Linked DNA regions of Homo sapiens: regions 1, 2, 3 and 4 are each linked to region 5. The links are contacts of gene promoters, found by promoter capture Hi-C in blood cells and fetal thymus (Javierre and others, 2016). All regions are on one chromosome and are shown on one strand. The core of a region is centred on a gene start or on the middle of the fragment in contact, and the rest is flanking DNA. Distances in the headings are between cores, read along the strand shown. Region 1 overlaps AP2B1 (adaptor related protein complex 2 subunit beta 1). Region 2 has its middle 87 kb from the start of CCL1. Region 3 overlaps AP2B1 (adaptor related protein complex 2 subunit beta 1). Region 4 has its middle 16 kb from the start of CCL1. Region 5 holds the start of LIG3 (DNA ligase 3).

Region 1 (3,764 bases), core at 536-3,035, 620 kb after region 5:
CTTGTTTTTACCTATGAGTTTGGGTCTAGGAACAAAGGATTCTTCTGGGGAAAGTCCAACCCTTCATCTTTTGTAAAATTGTTCCTAAATAAAATAGATCATTTCTAGAAATGTGGAGGGTCTTCCCATCAAAGACAAACATTTTAGCCCATCTCAGCTTATTGTGCCTGTAGCTTAGCTTGCTTTATTTGTTGCTTAGGATCAGAATTCTGTGCTTTTGTGTTCAGGAGTCCTTACATTTACCAAAGTATTCCAGACATGGCGCCAACTACCATTCTTCTTTTTCTCTTGTTGCAGTGAGTTGCTTAATTATGTCAGTTTGTTGTCTGTAGCTTTCAGTCTTGGCAACACATCAGAATTGCTCAGCCAGGGAACTTTGAAATAATACTGATGCCTGGGTCTCAACCTCAGCCTGATTTCAGTTGTCCTGGATATGGTCTGGGTGTGAGGATTTTAAAGGTTCTCCAGGTGGCCAGGCATGGTGGCTTATGCCTGTAATCCCAGCACATTGGGAGGCTGAGACAGGAGGATTGTTTGAGTGCAGGAGTTTGAGACCAGCCTGGGCAACATGGTAAGACCCTATCTCTATGAAAAAAAATTTAAAAATTAGCCCTGTACGGTGGTGCACACCTGTAGTCCCAGCTATTTGGGAGGCTGAGGTGGGAGGATCACTTGAGTGCAGGAGGTTGAGGCTGCAGTGAGTCGTGATTGTGCCGCTGTACCCCAGCCTAGGCAACAGAGAGAGACCCTGTCTCAAAAGAAAAAAATTAAAAAGAAAGCTCCCCAGATTATTTTAATGTGCAGCCATGATTGAGAACTACTGCTAGCTGCTAACAGTGCTTGGTAGATTTGATTGGGGGGAGGAGGAGGGAGAAAATATAGGAATTTAATAAAGTTGTAGAATATATGACTTTGCCTCTTTTAGTACCCCTCTTTGGTCCTGCCCAACTTTTTCCTCCTTATTTTTATTACTTACACCTCACAAAAGCCATTAGCCACTTGTCATTCAGTCTCAGCTTTTTCTGATTTTCTTTTGGAAATATGTTTATTTCTTCTTCTGTTAGCATTTTGTGTGCTTTGACGAACAAAATGTCTATAATTATATAAAGGGATACAATTACAATTAAATAGTTATAATTTTAAAACTCTCCTAATTCTTCAAACCTACTCTTGAAAAGTGTCCTGGTGACCTTTTTTTAATTCAGGCATTTGTAAAAGTTTGAGACTGCAGATTGAATCACTGCTAATAAACATCATACTTAAAAAAAATTGATAGATTGTGTTCCCTGTACTTCCTGCAACACCCACCAGAACTGCCACTGAAACATATTCTTTAAATTTATGCTTTTGGAATTGGAATAATTTCTGTTACATCCTGCTTTGATTCTATAACACCTGCTGCTGTTCACAATTCAGACTTTCTGAAACCCCGCCGTTTGTCCTTCACTGTTCCCGGAAGTGAATGAGAGGAACTCTAAGAGCTGGATTTGGCAGGATGGGACATGGTGAAGAGTCCTATGAAGAATGACTCTTTAAAGGGCCCAGCTTTTCTTGCTATGCTACTTTTGTAGCTGTTGATTAAATAGAAATTTTGGAACAATTTTTTTGCCTTATTGGCCATGGATATTGAAACGAAAAAGTGCTCTACTTCTGTGTCTTACTAATTTCATCCTTTCCACATAATGGTTTCAGGCAAATCACGTAGTGTTTGTCCCCACTATTTCTTTCTTTTTTTTTTTTTTGGAGGAGGGGAGGTCAGGTTTTAATGTCCCAGTCCTCGGGCGCCGTCATCCCGCGCCTGCCAGGCCCGGCGGCCATGTCGCTCACTCGGGTGGCGGCCAGCCTGCCTCATCAGGGCCTTCCGCGGAGGCCGCCCCGTCGCCCTCGAGCACCAGCTTCACGTCCAGCTCCAGCTGCCCGGTGTAGAAGCCCACGGCGGCGCACACCCAGAGCGGGCTGGTGGCGAGTACAGCGCCCGCAGCTGCGCCCCCTAGCGTCAGCTGCATGGGCCCCCGCAGCGCTGCCAGGCCCCGCAGGCGCTGCCCCACACCGCACACAGGCCGCCCAGCAGGAAGAAGCCATATGCTGCTTCGTGATCCATGTCACTCTGCATGAAGGAGATAACCCCGATGCCCTATGCCAGGAGGCCATTGTGGAACCAGGAGAAGAAAGCTGTCTCGTGCGCCTTTCGGAGAGGAGCCTGGCGCCTGCACGGTCCAGCTCGGACACAGGTGGCGGCGAAGCCCCGTTGTGGGGGCCGTGGCCGGGGGCGAAGGACCCCTGGGCGCCCCCGCTCCGGGGCCACTGAGGCAGCAGTAGCGACCTCCGGAAGCGGAGACTGTCCCCACTGTTTCTATGCTGGTAAATGAGATCTGGTTGAAAGGAACGACAGGAACAGTCTTGAAGGTGGAGGAAAGTCTTTTGAGGCAGTATGGTAGATGAGCTGGAGGATGTAGATGGAAAGTTGAGATGGGAGTAGTCAACCTCTTTTTCATGGACTTAGTGTTTTTTTTCCGTTTCTTTTAAACAATATTAGGGTTGTTACTTTCTTTTTTATTTTGGTTCCGGCTTCTTGCAGATAGGTGAGCCTGGAGACCAGGCCTTAAAATAGTGGTTACAGTCCCTGACAGTTTACAGTGCGGAGCCTAAGCAGTCATTCAAGATTGTACCTTTGGAAATGACTCCATTGTGTACCATTCTTGGTTTCAAGATTATTCTTGTTTGATTGAATAGCAAGGGCCTTAAAGCCCACTGATTTATTAAAGTACTGATTAAAGTAGTGATTCTCAACATTGGGTGTGCGTTAGAGTCACTTGGTGGAGCTCTTAAAGGTATAAATATGAGTTCTCTTTGACATTATGATTTATTTGGCCCAGAGTGGAGCCTGTACTTTGCTATATTTAGTATTTCTCAGGTAATATTAGTGTGTGGCCAGGGCTGAGAACCTTTGCATTCAAGAGTCAGGAGACACAGTGCTAAGCCCAACTTTGTCACTGACTCTGTGAACTTTGAGCCTCATTTCTTAATCTGTAAAGCCGAGCGTGGGTAAATGAGGTAATACGCGCCTGCTCCCTACCTACGTTTATGTTCTCCTCCAGACTTTAACATTCTGATGGAAGATCATCCTTCATATACTGTTCTCTCCCCATTGTAGCTAGATATAATGAGATTTGGTTTTTCCCACTCTTGTGGTTCTTGAAGATCTGGATTGCACCTTCCTCTCTGGCCATAATTTAAAAGATTTTTAAAACTTACTGATGGCTTCCTTGTCAGTGAGTCAGGTAATATTCTAGGGCTTTGAATTTTATATATTCTATAATTTTAAAATCTTATTTTAGTTGCTGCCCTGCTATCCTGGTATTGGTTATTACATAGTGTAGTATTCTGCTCTAAGTCTGTGGTACTGGAACCTTACCAGTTTGCTCTCATCTCTTGCAGGAGAAATATTTGAACTAAAAGCTGAACTCAACAATGAAAAGAAAGAAAAGAGAAAGGAGGCTGTGAAGAAAGTGATTGCTGCTATGACCGTGGGGAAGGATGTTAGGTAAGAGTAATCACCCTTGCCATTGATCACTTCAGAGGTCCATACCCCATCTTATGGCCTTTACTGCTTTTCCTTTAAAAGTATCATAATCATAGAACCTCTAAGAATGGGTTTGTCCCACTAAAAACATCATTAGGAAGTGCAGTTGCCTTTGTATTAATGCTCTACTTTTTGTTTGTTTGTTTGTTATGGGGTGTGTGTGTGTTTGTGTTAGAACAGT
Region 2 (4,160 bases), core at 714-3,213, 530 kb before region 5:
GTCCCCCTTGACAAAAGGACATTTTATTACTCATCTTCCTGCCTCACAGACCAGCTGGGAGTTAAATGTGATATGATGTGTTATGGAAGAGCTTCCTCAATGACCTAAGCTATTCACTGAGAGCCAACCCGGCTCTTTGTACTGTCCAACAGAGGAACATTCTAGCTGGTGAGAGTGCTCAGCCTAGGCCTTATGTTCCCTCCAGGACAGTACAATTCCACAAATATTCACTGGGCACATACTATGTGCCAGGGCACTGTGCTAGGTGCCAGGGACAGAGAGGCTAAGTGATCAACCTGGTCCCTGACTCCTTAGTGCTCAGACTCTGGTCTAGTGATTCTCAGCTACGATTGCACCTTAGGATCCCTGGAGGGAAGTGGCAAAAGCATCAGTACCCAAGCCCCATTCCAGGCCAACGAATCTGAATCTATATATTTTTCAAAGCTCCAAGGTGATTCTGAATGCAGGATGAGACAAGAAAGTAAGCAATTACAGTATTTTCTTATCCTTGGTCTGCTCAGGAAAGTACAGGGAGACCTTGGAAAGGTGCCTAAGTCAGATTTTAGTGGTGGTGGTGGAAGGAGGGTTAGGGAAGGCTACTGGAAGAAATGACAAGTGACTCCATGCAATGTGATGGCAAAGTTGGAGGCCCTGAAGGCAGTTCTGCTGGACTGACTCAGAAGGTAAGGGGAAGGCAACATGTTTGAGGCTGGAAGAGGCAGTCAGGGGCCAGATTGCAGAGGGCAGGTTTGCCCAATTAGGGAGTTTGCACAGACCCCAGAGGCAATGGGGTACATGGAGAGGAGTTAAGCAAAGAAATGCCATGATCAGATGTCTGCTGGTTGCTTAGGGGACTTACGTTGTTCATCTGGGTAGCAAAAGGCTCCAGCAAGTTGGGGTCAGGACCTCTTCCACTACCCCCATGCATCTGGAGAGGGCAGAAGCTTTCCCCAGGGCTGCTGGGCGCTACTAGTTTAATCTGAGTTTCATGGTGCATTAGCAATGAGCTCTCAGGATCAGCCAAGTCCCTGGTACTAATCAGCCGCTGAGGCAGGATCGATGGCAACTACATTGATCTTGCTTTTTAGCTTTGGCTCCTTATAGAGCTTATTGACTGGACAATCTAAGAGGGCGGGGGATGTGCACCCAAGTCTCACCGAACTGTGGTAGAAAAGCGAGGAGAAGGGTCCCTCACAGGTCCTGCACCTCACTCTAGTCTCACACTCATCCTGAATGTGGCCCCCACTGCCAAATCCTACACCCTACACAAAATCATGGTGTTCAAGGCTTCAGCCTCAGCTGTTGCCACTCACTCTCCGTGTTCAGGTTTGAACCCACAGAAATGCCTTTCCAGCTCCTCTGCCTCTAGATACGTTCTTCTCTCTAACAAGGATGTGACTGACTCCTACCTCAATTTACCCAGTCTGATCTCTTCCTTCCTCCAGATCCAGCTCAAATATCGCCTCCTCTAGGAAGCCTTCTGTGGCCTAACCTCACCCCCAAAGCACCAATAAAGTCTTCTGTATGTCCACAGCATTTGATATGTAACTGTATGTATGACACTGATACACTTTTACAACTAATTACTGTGTCTGTCTCCCCAGAATGTAAGTTATTTAAGGACCTAGCATACAGCAGATGCTCAATGAAGGGTTCTGGAGTGAATGAGTGAACAAATGAATGAAGAAATGCTTTAAAATATCATACAGATTTCAGATTTATTTCTTTAATCCTGACCCCGCACAGCCCTCTAAGGGTACAGAATAGCAGAGACTCTGCCTAATCTAATATGGATGGCACTGGTTCAGATTTATACCTGAAATATTAGAACTGGGAGGAAACTTATGCCTTATTGTTATTGAGTTCAATCCCTAATTTTATAGTTGGGGCCACAGGTCCAGGGACAATAACTGACTCACTCAAATCTCACAAAAGCAGATGGCAGGCTGAGAACCCTCCAGGTGCTACTTTATGTGGACATGACCATGAAAGTGGGGGATAGCAAAGCCCACTGAACACCTCCAGGTATTCCCACCCATCACTCTGACTTCCTGTAACAGTCTTTGTCTCTTGAGGTGCATCTGGCTGAACAGGTACCTATTAGCTGGGCCACAGGATGGAGGCTCCCAGAAGACAAAAGTTCTTTCTTACAGTGACTCACTATATGAAAAAAGGGCTTTATTTCATATCTACAAGCCTCAGTTTCCCAATCATTAAAATGGGGGAAAAGATTATCTGCCTTTTCTCTTCTGGTCTTAGGAGAGGCTACTCCTTGAGCAAAGCCTGCCATTCTTTAAAAAATATCTTCACAGGTCATGCCATCTGGTATCGATGAGAGAAGGCAAGAGAACATGGGGTCTAGGAAGTCAAGCTGAGAACATAGCCTGTTTTTGTTTGTTGGTTTACTTTTTATTGAAATACAACATACAGAAAAATGAACTTATCATAAGTGCACAGCCCATACATTTTTCAAAAACTGAACCAATGTGTACATAATATGTAGATCAAGAAATAGAGCCTTCCCGAAGCTGCCCTTGGACTCCCTTCCCATCACTACTGCCTAAATCCACCATACTGATCTCAAGCACCATAGATTAGCTCTGTCTCTTTTTGCACTTCATAGAAACAAAATCTTATAACTGCTCCTCCTTTGTGTATACCTCCTTTTGTACAACATCATGCTTCCATAAGGTTGTGTGTCATTGTAGAGTGGCCATTCTAATTGCTAGATATTATTCTATTGTATAATTATATTATGATTTGCTTATCCATTCTACTATTGATGGACATTTGGGTAGTTTCCAGTTTGGTGCTATTACAGATAGTGTTAAAATAGTCTGTTTTTAATATTTTAAACAATCACTTAAAAAGACAGATACTTTAAAATATCCAGGAAGAAAATAATTGTATATTCATGCTTCCATTTAATAAATATTTGTCAAGCACCAACTGTGTCCTGGAATGGTCTTCTCCCTTCCTCTCCTAAGCTTAGCCTTTACAGAACAGGTGACATCCCACCTCTTCTACAAAGCATTTTTGCTTGCCCCCAACCTATAGTGACATTCTCCCAACCCTTAAGCCTCAAGGTAGGTCTTGCCAAGAACACACAGTAGACCATGAGCCCACCCTGCTAGCCTTGTTCCTGCTCCTTCTCTGCTTATTTTCAGGTGGGCACTTCTGAAAAGCAGGTATCATCTTTCTCTGCCTTCCACAATACCATGCACAACACTGGGCACATTATCAAACTCACAGAATATACATTCAATTTAACTAGATCTCAGCCATAAGAAGGTGATGTAAATGCATGAAGACCCCCACTCTCTGTCTCTACCCCAAGGATAATATTTTTGCAAAACATGGAAAAGATCTATGCCAAACATGGGCAAAACCCACGGACAGCGATGGATGGAGAAATGCATTGCAGTAGCCTTGATAGCCAAAATGAATTGGTTCCAGAGCCTGAGCTCTATGTTGTGGTTTATAATCACTTCTCTCTCCACTCCTTGGTGCAAATAATCAGTAGACACTGAAGTTTTGGATAGAGGACAAATTTCAGCACCATGGGTAGATCATCCTGTTGGCTGTTCTCAAGGAGCCACAGCAGACTTAACAGCAAGGTATTTTAGTGAGACAAACTCATCTTAGTTGAATTTCAGAAATGCTCATATCCTATTTTCACTTTCCCACAGACTTCTGCTAAGCTCTAAATTCCATATAATGAGGTTGAAAAAGTATAGGTTTTAAAGCTAGATAGACTTGAAATTCAAATTCCTGCTGTATTGCTTGTCAGCTCGACTTTAGGAAAATTACTCAATCTTTATGAACCTGAATTTATTTTATTTGTAAATCATGCTTATAATATTTCTTTATTTCAGATGTTATATTTCCAAGTCTAAAATTTGCATTTGGTTCTCTTCTGTGGTTTCTTTTCATTTCTTCTTCTTCTTCTTTTTTTTTTTTTTTTTTTTTTTTTTGCTAACATTGGTAGTTCAGTCTTTACATTCATTGTAGACATACTTTTCTTTATATCCTTGAGCATAGTTATAAGAGCAGCTTTAAAATATTTGTCTGCTAATTCCAAAATCTGGGTCATTTTAGGGCCAGTCTCAAATGTTTTCTATGGGTAAAGTTTTCCTATTTCTTCCTATGGCTAGTAATTT
Region 3 (3,954 bases), core at 946-3,445, 630 kb after region 5:
CAGGACCATCCTGGCTAACGCGGTGAATCCCCGTCTCTACTAAAAATACAAAAAATTAGCCGGGCGTGGTGGCAGGCGCCTATCGTCCCAGCTACTCAGGAGGCCGAGGCAGGAGAATGGTGTGAACCCAGGAGGCGGAGCTTGCAGTGAGCCGAGGTCGTGCCACTGCATTCCAGCCTGGGTGACGGAGCGAGACTCTTGTCTCAAAAAAAAAAAAAAAAATTTTGTTGGACGTGGTGGTGCATGCCTGTAATTCCAGGTACTTGGGAGGCCGAGGTGGGAGAATCCCTTGAGCCCAGGAGTTTAAGGCTGTAGTGAGCTATGATTGCACCACTGCATTATAGCCTGAGTGACAAAGACAGACCCTTCCTCAAAAATATAGAAAAATAAATATTGTCTAAAGTTAGTAGTATCTACTTTACAGAATGTTTAGCTGGCACCAACTTGTGTTTTTGGCATTGCTTTTGATTCACTGTTATTCTGAGCAACTATCTATAATTCTCTACCTGAGGACAGATGAGATGAAAAGTGTTTGTGCTGCAACCGTCAACCAGGTGGGCAGAATATCATGTACCCCGTGGAAACTTATTAAATATTCAGTGGTGCTAAGAATATGGAATGGCTCAAAGGGAAAATGAGTTCTAACTTACAGGCGACTCCAGTTTGAGGCAGCATCTCTATGCTAATGTAAATTCTTTAATGCAGAACCTATACAGTTAGATGGTCAGGGATAAGGCCTAAGGGATGTTTAGCAGTAAAGTCGTGTGTGTGTGTGTGTGCGCGCGCGCACGTGCGCACACACACTCAAGTAGCACATTTAGAGATCTTTATCCAGATAAACCGAGAAGAATAAAATGATTCTGGAACAAGCTTAGTTTGTCCGATTTATTCAAAGTTTACATTGCAAAGGAGAGAGCTAGTTTTCATCTAGTCCATAAAATCAGGTGGCATACGTATGCTATTTATGTATTTGTGTTTTTTATTGTGGGAATCTTCAAACATTCAAAATTAGGACAAATAAATGAATACAATAAATAAAATGAATTCATTTATCATCACTAGATTCACTAGTCATCAATACATGCCAATCTTGTTTTACTTATTTTCTTTCCCCATCCCCTAGCTATATAAAATTTAAGCAGGCAGCACATGAATAGGTCTCTATTTGAATTTAGTATATCATAATATTATAGTAAACTGTATAGTGTTCTTAATTTTTAACCTGTTTTTACTACAACAAATCAAAACGTGACTTGGGGAGATTTTCATAAATATTTTTGAGGAGACTTTTAGAGAAAATTTAAAGCTACTTGGTAGATTTTTGAGAAACAGTTTCAGGAATACCTCATATTTTGTTGTCTCTTTATTTATAGATTTTCCTAGAGCAGGGTGTCAGCATTAGATAGCAAATTATTGGACCAACTGCTCTCTGAATAGAAGATCTTTGCTGTTTTGTCAGAACTCAGTAGCAGAACTTTTCTGATATTGTTTGACTTAGCCTAAAGAGGTGCCTGGAGTGTAAAATTTAAGAAGACACTCATTCTCAGGTGCGAACTCTGTACCTCACAAGCCTGAGAACAGAGTGCCTCCTTAGTTTTGTGCCTGGAGTGCCTCACTTGCCTTACTCTTGTCCTGGCCTTGTTACACATACTCATATTAAAATCATTTTTTGAGCTCTTCATTCTTGTTTTAGTGAAGAACTGAAAAGCTTGGGCTTAAGAGGTAGCCAACACACATAGATACATACCTACTTTTTATTTTGAATTTATACTTTTCATCTCAACTGTATTCCCTACTTATTACCTTAGAGTATTACAACTGTCATTAGAACACTTAAATTTAAGTGCCTTCTATGCCATGCACAGTGGTAGATGCTTTTACTTACAATGTTTCACTTAGTTCTCACATTTCTCCTTAAAGCAGAGGTTATTCCATGTTACAGGTCAAGAAATGTTTACTCAGACTGAAGAACTCTTCCTAAAATCATGCAGCTAGTAGTAATGTAGCTAGGATCCCAACCTAGTTCTGAGTCCCAGACTCCATTGCTGGTTACTACCTTCATGGATGAATGTATACCAGAGAATTTAGGCCAGGTGTGGTGGCTCACGCCTGTCATCCCAGCAGTTTGGGAGGCTGAGGAGGGTGGATCACCTGAGGTCATTTAAATGTGTATGTGCGCACACACACACACACACACACACACACAGAACTGCTTCATTTTCTCAAAGTGTTTACGTTTGAATACATAAAGACTGAGTTATCTGAACACTGCTTCATTATAGAAATCTCAAAAAAGAAAAAAAAAATGAAAGATACAAAAAAAAAAGAAATATCAATCCTCTTATTCCAGTGATGGATATGAGTCCTTATTTTACTGCTCTTGAGGAGTGATTTTGTTCCACTTTTTCAGAGGCTACTCCACATGGTGGCAGCACTGCACCAGCACATATTAGATTCTCTTAGAAAAGAAAAGAATGAATGCTTCCAGGGGTTGTGCCTTAGTAGTTTTCTTGTAGCTCACTTCAGAAGGGCATCCTAGATTTGAAAGCACTAGAATATCTGCAGAAATGACTTTGAAATCTTCTAATATGAGAGATAAATGTTGGTCGAGGGCTGAAAATTCTTGGTGTTATATTGACCTCAAGTCTGGTTCCTAGTGACACTGTGCCTTGCTGCAGGTAACAAAGCTTTACCATAGTTTTGTTTCCTGTGTTTTGCAGAGAATCACATACATCTTACTTTCCTGCAGTTGTTTTACAATTTATAGTTTAGTTGAAGCTAACTTTTGATGAAATACTAGTTAAGAGAGAAAAGATGAATTTAGAAGTAAAAAAATCTCACTCTATTAAGTCCTAGCTTTATGTTCATGTTGTTTAACTTACCCAAGTCTGTTTCCTTTCCTGGAAGATGAAGGCTACTATCTTAGAGAGTTGTTTGGATTATTAATTGAGCTTTTGCATGAAAAGTGCCCTGTAAAGTGCTTGGCTTATGGGAGCTCATAAGTGGTGGCTGCTACTGTAATTATGAAGTAGGTATTAGGCAGAGGTTAACATTATTGCTACAATATTAATTTAAAAGGTTCTGATTCCTTTAATATTTGTATGGACTATCTGTTCCAAGGGAATTAAACTTGTCGTCAGATGTGGACTTTATTAGTTCATTATTTTGAAGGTAAACCTCCATCCAGAATAAGGAAACATTTTAGAGCTATAGGGAAATAGCTTTTGTGGTTTTTTTTACAAATGTCACAAGTATATATTTGCAAGAAAATGTGTATCTTTTTGGTATATGACTTGTTTTATTGAGATATGCACTTTTGAATGAATGATAGTATTCTCTAGCTTCGTTACTATGGTTTTCTTTTTTGCTCTCAGAGGCATTTAGGGGTATTCAAACCTCAGTTAACTTACGTATATTAGAATTTGCAACTCCAGAGATGCTCTTGACAGCCCCACCATATGTGCTTTGCTTTTTGTTTTTATTTATTTTAAAAATTTACTTTTTATTTTTTGAGAGACCTGGTCTTGCTCTGTCACCCAGGCTGGTGTGCAATGGCTTGATCATAGCTCAGTGCAGCCTCAAACTCCTGGGCTCAAACAGTCTTCCCGAGCAACTGGAACTACAGGCATATGCTACCATGCCCAGCTAATTTATTTTATTTTATTTTTTGTAGAGATGGATCTTGTTTTGTTGCCCAGGTTGGTCTCAATCTCCTAGCTTAAAGCAGGCCTCCAGCCTCAGCCTCTCAAAGTACTGAGATTATAGGCGTGAGCCACCATGCCTGGCCTGCTTTTTGTCTTCTTGGGTTCAGTCCTCGTAAGTCCCTTTGGTTTACTGCGTAGCCCCTTTGATCTTCATCTTCCAGACTGTCTATCACTCTCACAGCTGCCCATGAGAATACCTGTGCTTCATTGTTCTGTCCTCTCTGCAAAATTGCAAACTGTTGAATTAGTA
Region 4 (4,253 bases), core at 473-2,972, 600 kb before region 5:
TGCCCTGGATTTGGTCTTGGTCTCCAGGCTAAGTGTTCATAGCCATGCCTTTGTTTTGTTTTGTGCCTTAAAGCTATGTATTATTTTGAGAATTTTTTTAACCACAGAGGTTGGAAGTGAGAGATTATTGCATCTTTCAACACTCTTAGCCCTAGCATTTCTAGACTTTCTATATTCCCTTTCAGTTCCACTTGCAAATGAGCCTGCCCTTTGCTGACATCATTTCTTTCTTGTAGTACCTCATGAAATGTAGCTAGTAAAAGCTAACTCACACTAACCAATTCTGTCTCAAAACCTCTTCTCCCAAAGCTATAAATTCAGTAGGTTTATTTTCTGCCCTCCGAGTTATCATATGTGACAGTTTTACCAAATGTTTCACTACAGCATTCCATAGGTTGCCATTTCTCTAGCCCCTATAATAATTTCTCTGCTGTCTGCCACCCAGCTGCAAAGCCAAATCTGTACATCTTATCCTTTGGTTAGAGCAATTTCTCTCTTCTAGGTATTAATTTCTGTATCGGCCAGCTTTTGCTGCAGCAACAAGCAACCCCAAAATATCTGTGGCTGATAACAAGAAACATTTCTCTTTTTTGCTCTTAAGTCTGCGGGCCAACTGCAGCCCTTCATTAAGCTGTGGGTCATGTCAGTCTTTGTCACAAGTCTTCCCAATTCCAGGGTCCAGCTAAAGGAACAGCTCTTGCTCAGGACAGGACATTCTACTGGCAGAGGGTCCAAGAGAAAGAGGATTATCAGAAACTTGCAATGCTTTCAAAGCTTCTGCTGGGATCTGGCATGTCATATCTGCTAACATTCTTTTTTTTTTTTCTGAGACAGTCTCACTGTGTCACCCAGGCTGGAGTGCAGTGGCGCGATCTCAGCTCACTGCAAGCTCCACCTCCCGGGTTCACACCATTCTCCTGCCTCAGCCTCCTGAGTAACTGGGACTACAGGCACCCGCCACAACACCCGGCTAATTTTTTGTATTTTTAGTAGAGACAGGTTTTCACCGTGTTAGCCAGGATGGTCTCGATCTCCTGACCTCATGATCCGCCCGCCTCGGCCTCCCAAAGTGCTGGGATTACAGGCCTGAGCCACCGTGCCTGGCCCATATCTGCTAACAGTCTATTGGCTCAAGGGAGGTACATGGCCAACCTCAAAGTCAACGGTGTGAAGAAATACATTCTAAACCCTTTTAAATGAGAATAGAGCCTCCTGCAGATTTGAAGGAGCTCTTGATATGTTCTTATATTAATCCTTTTGGTATGTGTATTGCAACATAATCTCCCATTTGTAACTTGTTTTTAAGTTGTCTCCTTAAAAAGTATGTTAATATTTTTATTGAAAAGATGTATAGGTTTAACAAATTGTAGTAGCTCCACTATCCAGACAACCATTTTCATTTTTATTGACCTTCTAGTCCCTGTACACATTAAACAAACTCCACCCCAGAGTTACATACTATAATGAGTAACTCAATGCAATTATCAATTTCTACAACATGCAATGCTACCCTAAGAACTGCCGCAAATTTTAAGTCCAGAAGATAAAGAAACAGAAACTTAGCAAAAGATAAATATTTACAAATACAGTGTAGAAAACTGCAAAATATTTCAACAGTTTTAAAAAATGCTTTCTTTCAGGCAGACTCCAGGGACAACAGTGAGCAGGGAACCGCGGACAGTCTCCAGATCTCAGAAAGAGGAACTTGAGCAAAAACGAAACAGAAAAAAAAAAAAACAAGAAAAACTATTCTTTCGAAACCTTCCAGCCACCTCAAAGTGAGACCCGTAAGCAAACAGGTATACTTCAGAAGTCTCTAATTCTCATTAGTTGACTTTCAGTAATCGATGTTGGCCCCATGCAGATGTTTTAAATCACTAACACAAACATTGCTGTCTTTGGTATTCTTGCAGTGTTTTCATTTATGAGAAAACCTGCAGAAGAAACTGCTTGAACCAAAGCAAAGTAGCAAGGAAACAGGTTACTATATAATCAGAAGGCCCTAAGAAAGGTAGCAGCAGGTCATATAATTACCTCCTTGTGGATAAAATCCCTGTCCTCAAACTACGCAACCTACTACCTGTACTTCTTCCTTAGGAACCAATTTTTTCTTGCCAGTCTTCTACTTGGCAGATGCCCTTTAAAGAAACCTGTGAAATTAAGCCACCTTTTTTGATTTTTTTTTCCAAATTCAAACCAGTTAGAATTGTTTCACAGATGCTTTTAAAAAGTTATTGGCCATATGATGTTCATCAAAACCACAAATGCATTTGCTTAAAACCAAACTTCAAATAAGTTAGGAAGGGGCGAAAGTAATTCAATTACATTAGAAGATGCAAACCAGTAGTCTAAGCCTCAGCCCACCATATATTGTTGGAGCACATATTTTATTGAAAGCGTTTAATCTTCAAAATTCAAACATCAAATCTCATAAAATCTCCGGCCTTCCTTGATCAATTAGAAAAGTAGATGACACAATGTAACTCCTGCTTGCTGCCTATCACCTGGAGCAAATTAACACCCTGCCTGTCCCCTTTAGATGCCATGCGTTTTCTAGTCATAGTCAGCTCCTCCTGGGACTCTGAAGGTATTTCAGCTTTTCAGTTTTTGACCCCTGAATTATAGTAAATGGAAGCAAATTCTGATCATGATTTTTGTCAACATTAAAAACAAGCTTTTTGAAACTGTCACTCTCTCCGCAATGGTACTTTTAAGTATTTTTACAAAATGTACCCATTCTCCATAATTTGGTCCACTTACTCCGCCTGGCTATTAAGGCTGTAAAATGGACCCTTATGTAATTAATGAAACATGTAAATTCATTTTTCTCCAGGCCTTACTTAGTTAATTAGTTAGAAAAAGATAAGTTTCCAACTGCAGAGTAGTAGTAATATCTACAGTGGAGACACATGTCAGAAAACCACAAAATTCCTGTGAATGAAAGAATGACTGTACTTGCCTCATGTTCTGCAGGCAAGTTATGCATGTTGTCAGTTTAACTAAGATTATGCCAAAGAGAATTTCGTGAACATTCTCACTTTTCTTTGGCATACACCGAAAGGCAACAAATGTAAGTTTGTTTTTTTTTTCCCCAATGTTTACGCAATTTGGAACAAAGACCAATTATCAATGTAGGTGCCCTACCATACGTCTGGGAATACATAAAAAGCACAAATGTGGTCCAGGATACATCACTTTTTTTGGGCCCACCCAAGGGAGAGTTTGATGTTTCCTCTTACGTAAAGTTACTGTTGTCAATGGCACTGCACTAGATATTAACATTCAAGATAAATGAAAATATTTGTGAGGTGGTAACCTTTTCCTCACCTTCACACTTTGCCCCTTTTCCCTCTTGTCCCAAAATAAAATAAACAGCAAACACTTAAAACAGGGAGCTTTTAGCCTTGCTTGGCTATAAGGCACAAGGTAGAATATGGTTTGGCTATTGGAAGAAAGCTGAAACATGGACCTTTCACAGGTATTAAAATTCAAGGTAACCTTTTTAGCATTTTGCTTCTATTTTATTTAAAGCAACAAATTATAGATGTCTCATCTGACATTTTCAAGTAATTCCCCCTTTGTGAATAAAGGACCACTTCAAGTTTAGGGAGCAAAGTTCAGAGCTTAGCGACTTACCAGGGAGCAAGGGTAGAGCGCAGAGCCCATGTCTCCTTTTCCAGGCTGGTGGCGAAACTGCCTAAATCAGCACAGCAATGCGGCAGTGCTCACAGCATTCTCCAATGCCATCCAAAACCAAACTGGGAATGAATCATAACAGACATGACTTTCTTTCAGCTTAGAGAGTGCTCTTCAATTTGTATTTACCTTTACCCCTCAGAACCTCACCTTGGACACAGATATCAGGATGTAAGGCAGTGAACCCACTGACAATTCCAAAGGGACCTAGTCCCCTATTAAGATTTCTCGAGGAGTCCTTACTTTCTCCACTCTTTGAGATTGTTGCTTAATTTCAAATTTCTGAAATATACCATATGTGAAAATTGTAAATGTTAAATCACTGCATCTATTGTACTACAGTTGAACAGAGAAAATTAACAACTGATAAACTGTAAATACAAAAGAATGTCAAAATTTATTACTCTGAGTTTTAATATCATCTAGATAAAAACAAACAAAATAATGTAGCAAGCCTACTCCTCAGTCAAGTTGTCGTTTTATGAAAGAAAAATCAATTTTAATACACATGTATCAATCTCTTATTTTATAGTCAAAACTCCTCTGTCTTAAGACAC
Region 5 (3,983 bases), core at 122-2,621:
TTTGGTCCATTGTTGGCCTAAATGTCATTATGTGGTACATATTATTAATGAGATATTTTACTTTTTTTAGTATGAATTTTTTGGTGTGTATTTTCTTCACTTATAGCACATCTCAATTCCATGCAACATTCAAGTGCTCAATAGTCACGTGTGGCTAGTGATTACAGCATTGGAAAAAGACAGATACGGTTGAGGAAACTTAAAAAAATGTAGCAAATGTAGTTGTAGAGACGTGCTCAAGATCACTCAATTATCATAGCTAGGACGTGAGTCTCCAGCGACCTTCCAATTGCCTGGTTGAACCAAAGCCCTGGTTCATTCTGCTGCGCATTAAAAGCAGGCTTTACTCCCCTCCAAACAGTAGAATCGCAGTTAAACTTAGTCAAACAAACTTAATGTATCCAATACAAAACTCATCTTTCTAACCCTAACACCTCCTCTTCCTCTCTATTTTCTATTTCAGTTGATGGTACCATTATGTTTCTGCTCACTCAAATTATTATTATTTTATCCATAAACGAGCACTTTATCTAGAAGATCATTTAAATTCTAAATGATCTTCAAAAACGCACTTTACTCTCCACCCTAACTAGCTGAATCATCTCCCACATGGGTCACTATGAGAGCCTTCTGATTTGTTCCCTTGCCTCAGTCTCTCCCCACCCAGCTTCAGCAGTATTCCCTAAGACTCTTCATGGCTCTCCGTCCTCTACAGAGTAAAGACGACACTCTTCATCACACAGCACAGAATTCTCTCGGGAACCTGTTCTTTGCTTACCTAACAAGGCCCAGTTGTTTGCTCTTCCTAGACTCTGAAGAGGTCACTTACCCTCAGGCTGCTACATTTGTAAAAATCGCCATCCCAACTCTCAAAGAGCTGGCTTCAGATTTGAGATAATACACTTTGAATGATATACAATCAAGGAGTTTCTCCTCCATCACTCCTTTACATTTTATATCTATCTGCTGTTTAGTGCCTCGTCTCAATTCCATGAAAGCTACTGAATACAAACTATTTACTAGGGAGTCTGCGGGACACAAACAGAGGGATTATATTTAAAAAATAGATTGACGCGATCTTTGCCTTCCCCGACCTCATTACAATATAGTTTCTCCACCAATATCTTTAAAAACAGATCCTCTCTAACAGTATGAGAAAATCAAGGGGAGCCTCGGAAGTTCAGGCCAGGCTGCGTTCCGAGGAGCCGCCACGTCCCCCCACCTCCGCTTCCCGGGCCGCGATTGCAGGTTGAAAACTACTCCCAAACATCACAGGGCAGGCAGAATGCAACTACGACCCACGTGGCAGACGGGGGCGGGGACCGGTCGCGTGGCCGCGGCCTTGGCTCTTGCGCCTGCGCGCTGCCTCCCGCTCTAGGACCCGGATTTAAAGAGACAGGCGCTCCAACCGTCGTGGGCTGCCCGCGGCCTGTAATGAGCAAGTTCCGAGGCCTACGGTGAGCGCCGGAGCCGGAGAGGCAGGTGAGGGGCTACGCGGCGCGGCACGGCGCGGCGGGGCCCGGCGTGGGGAAGGCAGCGGGCCCGGGGCGAGGAGCTCGGCGCGGCCGGGGAGCCAGCCCCCCGGCTCCTCCCCCGCCCGCCTGCGGAGCCCCGGGGCACACCCTCCGTGACGTGGCGGCCCTCCCGGGAGCCCAGGGGGAGGCTCGCGGCTCCCCGGGACCCCCACGGGGCCGCGTGAGGCGGGGAGGCCGGCGCCCGGGCTGTGTTCCCTGTGGAACCCACGGGGCCTTCTCGTACCCTGGCCCGGCGTGCGTCCTCCTGCGCTGAACCGGGAGCGCTCGGGTGGGACTCAGGGAGCCTTGATCACTTCCCGCCTGCGTCCCGGACCCGGTGGAGGAGCGCTCCTTTCTGCCTCGCCGGGGGTCGCGGCCTACGCCGCCGACCCCACTGTCCCCGCCACTCTCCGACAGCGGCGCGGGAAGCCCTTCGAGAAAAGCGGCGGCGGCCAGGCCTCAGCGATTTCCTTCTCGGGCCCCTGGGCTGCGGCAGTTGTGAGGGTGCGGAACGAGGGACAGACGGGTTTCCTCAAAGCTGCATTGTGCCTCCTCGTGGCCCAGCGCCTCCCGAGCCTCCCTCAAGTCCACTCCTTTCATTATTGGGGCCCTAGAGGTTGCTCTGTAAATTGATCTTCTAGGAAAAGTGTTGAAACTCACTTGTTCTGACCTCCTTTTATGGGTCTGCCGTACTTCCACTTACCTCACCTCTGTGGTTCTTAAACTTTGGGAGTTATATAGCCCTTTGTGAATATCACGAAAGTGATAGACCTCCTCCAAAAAACCGTGCATTTTTATCGAATGTACATTTTGTATACATTTTTAGAGAGCTCAGAACAGCCTCCCTCCCCCACAACCAGCGCATTCATGGATTCCTTGTAATTTTCCCAACTACCCTGTGAGGTAGGTATTATTTACCCTGCTTTAGAAATAAGAAAACAGATGCAGATAAATTAAGAGTTTTCTCCGAGGTAACAGTCAGTAAACTGTACAGTCAGACTTGCACTCCCATCCCTTATTCCAGGTCCACCAGCTTTCCTTCACATCATGTTGCACTACAGTAAGCAAAGCCTGCTTTTTATTATAACGTGACAGCAATTTTGCTTCACAGCGTGTGCAGACTGAACATAATTCCAGTATACTTAAAACTAGGACTATAAAATGCTTTAGAAAACATGAATATAAGAAGATGCTGATATAATCTTTTTCCATTTGGATTGATTTATGAGTTCCTGTGAGTCTTGCTGCCCAGTGACTTCAGCATTCTCTGATTCAAGTTGCTGAATGATAAACAGGTTAATTGCACATCGGAAGCCTCTTCTTGAAAGATAACGACGTCACCGATCATAATAGGAGCTGACGTTAATGAGAGCTCTTGCTGTGTGCCCAACTGTTTTAAGGGTTTTACTCTTAGAACAGCTCTTTAAGTTAGGCCCCATAATTAGCCACATTTTACAGATAAGGAAGCTCAGGAACAGAGGTAAGAAACCCATCAAGGTTATACAGCTGGTAAGTGGCTGAGTTAGGATTTGAACTCAGGCAGTCTGATTCCAGGCTCTGCTTAGTTGTCTCTCAATATAGGGATTCTAACTCAATTCCAAATCTATATAGTGGCTTGATTTCTGAGGATGGCATATGTGTTAAACTTCACAATAAAAACTTCATGAACATAATGTAATTTTTACTGGTGATTAAAACGAAACTTCAGGGCCAGGCACGGTGGCTCATGTCTGTAATCCCAGCACTTTGGGAGGCCGAGGCGGGCGAATCACCTGAGGTCGGGAGTTGGAGACTAGCCTGACCAACAAGAAGAAACCCCGTCTCCATTAAAAATACAAAAAAGTTAGCCGGGCGTGGTGGCGCATGCCTGTAATCCCAGCTACTAGGGAGGCTGAGGCAGGAGAATCGCTTGAACCCGAGAGGAGGAGGTTGCGGTGAGCCAAGATCGCGCCAATGTACTCCAGCCTGGGCAATTAAAGTGAAACTCCGCCTCAAAAAAAAAAAAAAAGAAAGTTCAGGATCTTGTAATACTTAAAGGTCATCATCCATTATGAGTATCATATGTTGCTGATGGCCTAAAAAGAGCTTTTATGTTATTTGGATTTTCTTCATTGTGATGTACTAGATGTACATGTGTGCATTAGATAATTGAACATCCTGCTGCGAGCTGGCTTTTCCTGTATCAGAACTCTTTCATGCTGTAGAGTAGACTATGAATGTAATACTTTGGAAAGTGTTTGATTAGTCATCATGGACTATATAAGACGCTGGCCTTTGGAAAATTGGAAGCCTATCTCCTTGTTTATATCTTTTTTTTTTTTTTTTGGCCTCCTACTCTTTCGTACAGCTATATGTCTTTGGCTTTCAAGATCTTCTTTCCACAAACCCTCCGTGCACTCAGCCGAAAAGAACTGTGCCTATTCCGAAAACATCACTGGCGTGATGTAAGACAATTCAGCCAGTGGTCAG

What was found. Contacts are between HindIII fragments. The CHiCAGO score rates a contact against its expected background, and 5 or more counts as called.
Region 1: a contact is called between a fragment that was not itself captured here and the fragment with the promoter of LIG3 in region 5, in 3 of 17 cell types (fetal thymus, total CD8 T cells and naive CD8 T cells). The highest score is 6.4, in fetal thymus.
Region 2: a contact is called between a fragment that was not itself captured here and the fragment with the promoter of LIG3 in region 5, in 1 of 17 cell types (M0 macrophages). The highest score is 6.6, in M0 macrophages.
Region 3: a fragment that was not itself captured here is called in contact with the fragment with the promoter of LIG3 in region 5 in 4 of 17 cell types (naive CD8 T cells, activated CD4 T cells, total CD4 T cells and 1 more); the score reaches 7.6 in naive CD8 T cells.
Region 4: a fragment that was not itself captured here is called in contact with the fragment with the promoter of LIG3 in region 5 in 1 of 17 cell types (erythroblasts); the score reaches 6.2 in erythroblasts.

What each region holds. Positions count from the first base shown.
Region 1 is chr17:35,594,792-35,598,555 of GRCh38, forward strand. AP2B1 (adaptor related protein complex 2 subunit beta 1) reads left to right here. Exons shown (of 22, transcript NM_001030006.2): 3 at 3,439-3,544. It also overlaps the pseudogene LOC100420062. Among named protein-coding and RNA genes, the nearest start is that of AP2B1, 9.4 kb to the left of the region's middle. The HindIII fragment of the contact is 5,699 bases long and covers 1-3,764 here.
Region 2 is chr17:34,447,956-34,452,115 of GRCh38, forward strand. No RefSeq gene overlaps it. Among named protein-coding and RNA genes, the nearest start is that of CCL1, 87 kb to the left of the region's middle. The HindIII fragment of the contact is 2,043 bases long and covers 943-2,985 here.
Region 3 is chr17:35,610,703-35,614,656 of GRCh38, forward strand. All of the region lies in intron 5 of AP2B1 (adaptor related protein complex 2 subunit beta 1), which reads left to right. Among named protein-coding and RNA genes, the nearest start is that of AP2B1, 25 kb to the left of the region's middle. The HindIII fragment of the contact is 979 bases long and covers 1,707-2,685 here.
Region 4 is chr17:34,377,116-34,381,368 of GRCh38, forward strand. No RefSeq gene overlaps it. Among named protein-coding and RNA genes, the nearest start is that of CCL1, 16 kb to the left of the region's middle. The HindIII fragment of the contact is 1,900 bases long and covers 773-2,672 here.
Region 5 is chr17:34,979,141-34,983,123 of GRCh38, forward strand. LIG3 (DNA ligase 3) reads left to right here and starts at 1,372. Exons shown (of 20, transcript NM_013975.4): 1 at 1,372-1,482; 2 at 3,862-3,983. The coding sequence starts at 3,866. RefSeq lists a silencer at 1,397-1,826. The HindIII fragment of the contact is 8,847 bases long and covers 1-3,983 here.